2 separate regions of the Homo sapiens genome follow, and region 1 is linked to region 2. Evidence: promoter capture Hi-C in 16 types of primary human blood cells and fetal thymus (Javierre and others, 2016). All regions are on one chromosome and are shown on one strand. Each heading gives the region's core, a stretch centred on a gene start or on the middle of the fragment in contact. The rest is flanking DNA. Distances are from core to core; before and after follow the strand shown.

The links. The method cuts DNA at HindIII sites, captures the fragments that hold promoters and counts their contacts. A CHiCAGO score of 5 or more calls a contact.
Region 1: a fragment that was not itself captured here is called in contact with the fragment with the promoter of ZFP41 in region 2 in 2 of 17 cell types (endothelial precursors and non-activated CD4 T cells); the score reaches 5.8 in endothelial precursors.

What each region holds. Positions count from the first base shown.
Region 1 is chr8:143,110,414-143,114,532 of GRCh38, reverse strand. No RefSeq gene overlaps it. Among named protein-coding and RNA genes, the nearest start is that of LY6L, 32 kb to the right of the region's middle. The HindIII fragment of the contact is 6,125 bases long and covers 1-4,119 here.
Region 2 is chr8:143,244,683-143,248,649 of GRCh38, reverse strand. ZFP41 (ZFP41 zinc finger protein) reads right to left here and starts at 1,711. Exons shown (of 3, transcript NM_173832.6): 1 at 1,508-1,711. RefSeq lists silencers at 1,277-1,326, 1,367-2,256, 2,457-2,616. The HindIII fragment of the contact is 20,601 bases long and covers 1-3,967 here.

The sequences.
Region 1 (4,119 bases), core at 282-2,781, 130 kb after region 2:
TTGCCACGAAATATCTCACTTTTATAACTATTTTTGCATTGCTCTAGTAGATTGACTTTGGCAACAAAAGACATTATTCTATTTATACATTCTGTTTGCAGTAGTGGCATTTCCAGTTACAACATATAGTAATTAGCAACCACTGAAAATGTCAAATCTTAGAAAATGTAGCGTTTCTGTGACATGAGCACCGTTTTCGAACAGTTGTTGGCTGAAGATCATTTGATGAATCTGATTTTTCAGAAATAGATGATTCTGATGCTTCAGATGACTCTGATGTTCTGTTTAGAAATAACTCCAACAACAGTTTTTATATTTTATTTTCACATTGAAAAGCAGTCAGATTTGCTTCACCCTCAAAGAGCGTGTTTATGTAAAATTAAATGAGCGCTGGCACCTTCTTTTTTCTCAATGGGAACAGGGTTAGGTAGAAGGCATGGTGAGATCGTGAAGGAGGAGCCACGTCCCGCTCCTATTCTATCTCATATATGTTTACATGGGTCATGCGTATGTGACCGGTCACTACCAGATTGTATGAAAGAACTCTAATGGGCTTAAAGGAAATTTAAACACTTAAATATCTTATCAGGATAATAGAAGCTAGCTCAAATGCCTTTTAGTTCATGTGACTTTGGTAATCTTTGGTAAGTAAAACTAGTTTCAAAATTCTCTTTATAAAATCTAAAAGTCATGCTAAATTAAGACTAGGATTTTCTAGAAATAAGGGGTTACTAAGTTACAGTAATAGTTTATATATGTAATTAAAACTGCTAGATATAGGCAAAACTATTCTACATACAGAGTGTATGAAAAGTAAGATGTGGGTTTTTCTTTTTTCCTTTTCTTTTTTTTTTTTGAGACTGAGTCTCGTTCTCTCCCCCAGGCTGGAGTGCAATGGCACGATCTTGGCTCACTGCAACCTCTGTCTCCCGGGTTCAAGTGATTCTCCTGCCTCAGCCTCCTGAGTAGCTGGGATTACAGTCGCCCGCCACCACACCCGGCTAATTTTTATATTTTAGTAGAGATGGGTTTCACCACGTTGGCCAGGCTGGTCTCAAACTCTTGACCTTGAGTTATGTGCCCGTCTCGCCTCCCAAAGTGCTGGGATTGTAGGCGTGAGCCACTGCGCCCGGCCATAATGTAAGATGTGTTTTTAGCAAAGGTTATAAAAATCATAAAGATATGGTTTCTGCTTAAAGGAAAAGTACTCTTGTCTAGTTTGGAAGCTATTTACAGGTTGTTTTGGAATCAAGGAAAGATGACATGGATGAGAGTAAATGGATAGAAAGAGGAAGAATAAAGGGCTGGGCAACAAGAAGCCCTTGATTCCTTAGCGGCCACACGTCATCCCTGGTCTGGAGCTGCAGCTGTGCCATCCTCAGCTGCTAAAGGGGAAAGCTACTGGTAGAATTAGAGATGGCACAAACCCTTGGGGAGTTGGTTCAGTGGATGCATAAGAAGATGCAGACTAATAAGCAAAAAGCAAAACATTCAATCCCTTGGTTACTGCTATCTGCAGTAGCTAAAATGAAAGTGTAAGAGAGTGCTGGGTTGGGCCTGGACCATGCTCAGTTGTGGGTCTGTCTGAGCTCAGGCCATTAGCCTCAAAACTACCCACAAAGGGGAAATGATGCCAGGGATGAAAGAAAGCACCCTGAGACCTGTGGTTACCAAGATGGTAGTAAGGGCAAAATCAAGTAGCACTGAAGCCAGAGGACGTGATGTGGGGCAATTGCTTCGTTTTGTAGATTCGCTTCCTGAGGAACTTCTACCAAAATAAATTATGAGAATGACTAATTTGGGAACAGTGTTTTTGGTTTTAAATGTGTAACTGAGCAGCTTGGCTTCAAACCATGTTTTAAAACTTTGTTTTTTCTCCTTTCTTCCCAATCTCAAGATATAACTTTGAGTCAAGCTGCATACGGGTTTCCTTTCATCTTGAAACATAGCCTGGGAATGTGCTGTGGCCTCCCCTCCCCTTCTTTTTCTATTCCATGCTGTCACACCTTACACACACTTATTTACCTGGATGCTTGTTAAGCTCACACCATGCTCACTTCTCTGGTGATGTATTTCCTTAGAAGTTTCAGGGGCCGGATCCTGCTATGGACCAGACACTTCCAGCCACGATGGCCCTGGCCCCTTCACCAGATGGAACAATAATTCGAGATGAGCCATGGGACTGGTTCCTGCCACCCGACACCTCCTCATCACCTGCCTCTTCTGCATTCCAAACCCTCTCTTTAAAATCCCCTGCGTTCCCTCCACAAATGGAAGAGTGGAATTGCTTTGTGCTCATCCCTTTGCTGGTACGGATAATAAAGTCTCACTCTCTTTCTATCACACCTCATTATTATTTTGGCTTCTTTCTACAAGTGGTGAGCAGCCTCACCCTTCTGCTGGTCACAAGTGCAGCAGAATGGAAGAGCACGTGTGGGCTGATGTGAGACCCACAGCTCACTGCTGAACAATGGCAGATGAGTGTGTGTGATCCAGACGCACAGATTATTCCTGAGGGAACGGCCAGCCTGGTGGGCTGGATAAAAGGCACTGTAAGAGAAGGGGACCACCCAACTTTCCCCATAAACGCCAAGTGGAGCACCCCCGATGAAGCAGCTGATGTGCTTCGTAAGCAAGCCATGTGGGACTGACTTTATGATGACCGGGATATTCACGGCTGAGTATGCCCAGATCATGGTAAATGCTGTGGTTAAGGGGGCCCATTGGCCTGGGCACCTCATTGGGTCTCAACTTCCCCTCATGGGTCATCCAGATGCTTATAAAAACTTTAGGCTAATTAATAAAATTATTGGGAAAGGCAAAAGGGAGTCCAAGGACTCATCCTAGGAAGGGGAAAATTTTTAAACGATTAGTTTTAAATAGGTAAAAAATGGGCCAGGCCTGGTGGCTCACGCCTGTAATCTCAGCACTTTGAGGGGCAGAGGTGGGCAGACCACCTGAGATCAGGAGTTCGAGACTGGCCTGGCCAACATGGCGAAACCTCATCTCTACTAAAAATACAAAAATTAGCCAGGTGTGGTGGCGCGCACCTGTAATCCCAGCTACTCAGGAGACTGAGGGAGGAGAATTGCAGTGAGTCAAGACTGCCACTGCACTCCAGCCTGGGTGGCAGAGTAAGACTCCATCTCAAAAAAAAGGTAAAAAGTGGATGGGGTGAAACCAAGAGGAAAAAGGAAAGGAGAGAGTCATGGGGTGCATCCTAGCGGGGTGGAATCTGTACATGGTTGTTAAGCAATGGAATGAATAATGGGGGGTTATTCACAAAGGTCTTAATACAACACTATCGAAAGTTGGGTGAACAAAGGGAGCCCCCGCTGGTCCCTCAACAGTAAAGAGCTCCAAAACAGTTTTTGCCAGATTGGAGAAGGCACTCTAACTATAAAAATTGGAAGGCAAAAGTTACACTGAGCAAACTGACCAACAATTGCGGGGGCCAATGTTGAGGTGGGTTAATCAAGATAAGATTGACAGAAGGGCCAGGGTCCCTTGGATCAAGCCCCTGTGGGGCACCCACATCCTTTTTCACAAGAGAGGGTAAAATGGTCTGGAGGTGGGAAAAAGAAGTTCCTGGGAGCAGAACAGAAAGACGTCGAGTTATGAAAGTCGACTTGTGTGATAGAGTTATGAAAGCCGAGATGTTTAAACAGGCTTTATGTAAGGCATTACATATCCTTTACCTAAATGCTTTATGAAAATGGATATTGAAGCTGGTACAGTGGTTCACACCTGTAATCCTAGCACTTTGGGAGGCCGAGGTGGGCGGATCACTTGGGGTTAGGAGTTCAAGACCACCCTGACCAACATGATGAAACCCCATCTATACTAAAAATACAAAAATTAGCCGGGCATGGTGGCATGCACCTGTAGTCCCAGCTATTGGGGAGGCTGAGGCAGGAGAATTGCTTGAACCCAAGAGGCAGAGGCTGCAGTGAGCCGAGATTGTGCCATTGCACTCCAGCCTGGGCAATAGAGACTCAGGAAAAAAAAAAAAAAGGAAAATGGAAAATGGATATTGTACGTGGACTGGGGAAACCCCTACCTACTACTGCAAAAGTAAAGGCATGAAAAAATCAACGAAAAGAGTCAAACTGTAAAATA
Region 2 (3,967 bases), core at 462-2,961:
GCTGGAGTTTGAGGCCGGGGTCCAGCTCTGGTAGGAAACAAAGGTGAGAACCAAGAACCAGCACAGAAGACCAGTCGACCAGCTGTTTGCCTCATGGGCAGGGCGGAGCTGGAGAAACGGCAGCTCTCCAGGGCATGGCGGGAACCTATCTGGCTCTCTGCAGACTCCACTCCACGGCGGGGCGGGGGGTGGTTTGTGAACCCACTGAGCCTAACGGCTGCTGCCCGAGGCCTGTGTGGGGGTCCTCCATGCTGTACAGCACTGTTCCTTCTTCCAGACACTTGTCACTGCACGTGTGGCTGGTCACTGACATGGCAGTCTCCTTATGCGACAGGGTCTCCTGAAGGCGAGGATCGTATCTTTTTTATCTCCAAATCCTAGTCACATACTGTGGTCAGGGAACATTCTCCATAACGGCTCTGTCGACTCAACTTAGGCTGGCAGGTGCTAACCGGCAGAGACTGGAATGACTCACTTCTCTACACGCTGCCCACCCTGAGAAATAAAATATTTCTTAAAAGCAGAGTGGACTGGCCGGGCGCGGTGGCTCATGCCTGTAATCCCAGCACTTTGGGAGGCCGAGGTGGGCGGATCACGAGGTCAGGAGATCGAGACCATCCTGGCCAACATGGTGAAACCCTGTCCCTACCAAAACACAAAAAATTAGCTGGGCGTGGTGGCACGTGCCTGTAGTCCTAGCTACTCAGGAGGCTGAGGGAGGGGAATTGCCTGAACCCAGGAGATAGAAGTTGCAGTGAGCAAAGGTCGCGCCAGTGCACTCCTGCCTGGCGACAGAACAAGACTCCGTCTCAAACAAAAAAACCAAACCAAACCAAAACAAAAAACCCCACACGCAAAAAACAAAAACGGATTGGACCATAGCGATTTTCTTGGCCTCACCTCACAGGCCTGTAGACAGGAGTGATTAGCTAGTTACAAACAGCGCAACCCACGCTTGCCACACCCCTAAAGACTGGGGTTCTGGTTCTGTCGTGCAACTCCAGCGTAGCTCCGTCGCCTCTCTGGGCGGAGGACCCTTCACTTGTAATATGAAGCTCTGGGTATCCGTGGGCGGTAAGGGCTGCCTAGAAAACCTCACTCACCCTGGCGCCTCCCTCCACTACTTTCAGGGATCTGGGTCTCATGGAGAGACTGGAACATTAGTGGGCTTGAGATTCAGGGGCAATCTGCACTAAAACAGCCTGCTGGGTCCACGGCCTGCCAGGGGCCTGCTAGCTGTGCCAAGGCCTGAGATGCCAGGCATCTGAGCCAGGCGGAGGGGCCCGCCAGGGTCCCGTGCGTGCTCCTAGTTAGAGGCTCTCCTTTCAACGGCAGAGCCCCGCGGCCCACGTGCAGAGCTAGGTCGGCCTCGGGGCCGGCGCCCGGGAGGTGCTCAAAGCCGGGTCTTGCCACATCCCTGGAGCGCCGGGGTGCGGGGAGGCGGCGGGGCCCATACCGACGCTGCGCGTCCTGGGCCGGAGGCGGCAGGCAGGAGCCCAGTGAGTACCTGGCTGGAGACGAGAGGCGACGAGGACCTCCCGCTGCAGAGCGCGGACGCGCCCGGGCCCTACCAGGACTGCTGGAGGGCGGGGAGAGGCGCGCGCCCCTCGCGGGGGCCGGAGGCAGGAAAGGAGAGCCCTAGATGCGGGACCCCCCAACAGCTCCCCACCAGTGCCAGCGTCCCCGTCGGCCCTAGGCACCGGCAGGAAATGCCCGCCCGCTGACCCGCCCCTTCCGGCGGCCGCGCTAGGAGCCTGGGCCGGACTCGGTGATGGTGGGCGGTGGAGGGCTCGGCCCGAGCGGCTCCATCCCCAGCCGACTCCGCCCCCGAAGACCCCGCCCCGATCAGGCCCCGCCCCCTCAGGCTTCACCCATAACTGCCGCCACGCCCGCAGGGTCCTCCCCGAGCTGACCCCGCCCCTTTACAGTCGTCTATGGCAGGCGCCCTCCCGAAGGCTCCCCCGAAATCAGGTCCCTCCCCGAGCGGGCCCCGCCTCCGAAAGCTCCTTCCCGAGCCGGCTTCCCCTCATGCCCCGCCCCCTCAGGCTCCGCCCTCGTGTCCCGCCCCCGAAAGTTCCTCCCCAGCCACCTCCCCACATGCTCCGCCCCCAGGCTCCGCCCCATGTCCCGCCCCCAAAAAGCCCCGCCCCGAACCGGCACCCTCATGCCCCGCCCCCAGCGGCCCCGCCCCGCAAGGCCCAGTCCCCAGCAGCTCGGTCCCGAGCCGACCCTGTCACGTAGGCTGCGCCCACCAGACTCTCCGGATCCGACGCGCGTGGGCTCCTGGCTCCAGACCCCCAACGGGGAGGTCGCGGCCGCGTGCTGGGAGACTTGTCCCTGAGGACGCTCCCCGCCAACCCCCAGCCCCCGCCGACCCCCAGCTCCCGCCTCCGCCGACCCCCAGCCCCCGCCTCCGCGGCGCCCACGGCTTGCCTCCACGGGAAGTCGCTGTCTCCGCCTTCAGCGCGGAAGGAGAACCGACGCCTCTCCAGGCCGCGGGCCCCTAGCTAGGCGGGCAACGCCTCCACCGCCGCCGCCACCGCGTGCGCGCCCTGGCGAGCCGTCCCCCACCACGTGGCCCCTGCCGCTCCTCCCGCCGCAGGCAGCCCCTCCGGGATGTGCTCCCAGCCGCTGGCTGTGCTCACTCCACTTCCTGCCTGCCCAGATCGCACTGAGCCGCCAGGCCCGCCAGAGCCCCGCGTGTTAGTTCCCTACGTACCGCAAATTGGGTGTCCTAAAACGACATCCGCCTATTATCTCAAGGCTTCTGTGGGCCAGAAGGCCAGGCTTAGCTGGGTCCTCAGCTCTGGTCAGCCGCTGTGTTCTCATCTGGGGGCTGGACTGGGGAAGGATCACTTCCCACCTCATGCGATTGCTGGCAGAAGTCATGTCCTGGTGCCTGTAGGACTGAGGGCCGGCAGGAGCTGCTCTCAGCTCCCGGGGGCTGCCTGCCAGTCCCTACTGTGGGAGGGTGGGCGGTTCACAGGGTGGCCGCTTCCCCAGGGTCCGTGGGAGAGCCCCACCCCCAGATGGAGTCCTGTGGAACAGAACCTAATTGTGGGTGACATGCCACCCCCTCGGCCCAGTTCTACTCAGATTCAAGTCACAAGTGCCGCCTGTAGCCAAGGGAAGGATGGGCATTGGGCTGGCTCTGGCACATCTCCTTAGGATATCTGCAGCATTCTGCCCCCCCAACACTTCCCATTTCCACTTTCTATATGATTTCCTTATTATATTTATTATTAATTATCCCCCGCTCCCACACTCCCATGCAAATCAGCTCTTGGAGGGCAGCCACCTGTTCTTGTTCTGGGTGCCTGATGTGTGCTGGGCCCTCGTGTCGTGTGGACTGAGTGAGCATGAGTGGAGATCTTAGGTGCTGCTGGTGTCGTGGCACCCTAGGAACTGCCTGCCCCCACCCAGCCCTCTCTCCAACTGCCTCCTGGACTTAGCAAGGTGTTGAAAACCAGGCAGTTCTGCTCCCTCCTCGTCCCACCCCCCTCTCCCATCCTGTTGCTTTTACCTCCCAATGTTTTAAACCACCCACTCTTGTCCAGCCTGCTTCCTCTGTCCCGGCTGCAACCCCATCTCCTCTCACCAGCATTACTTCTGTGCCCTGCCCTGGGGTCTCCCTGCCTTCATTTGGGCTCCCCTGTCCACCCCTCCTACAGCAGCTGGAGGGACTGACTTACCGGGCAAACCCACAGTGGCCCTCCCAGCTTCACGCCTGTCCTGCAGGATGAGGTCTGGGCCCCCTTAGCAGCTGCAAAGGGGCCTGCACAGACTTGCAGGCCGCCCCTCTCACCACCCTTTCCCCTTCCAGGAGACTCAGCAGCAAGTGCTTGCCCTGCCACACAGCATCGGCTGCATGCCTCAACCCTGGGCCTTGAACACCCCCGCTCCGCCTCCGCCTGACAGACCCTTTCCTGCTTTTTAAGACTCCACCTGTTCGAGCTCCTCTGTGCCA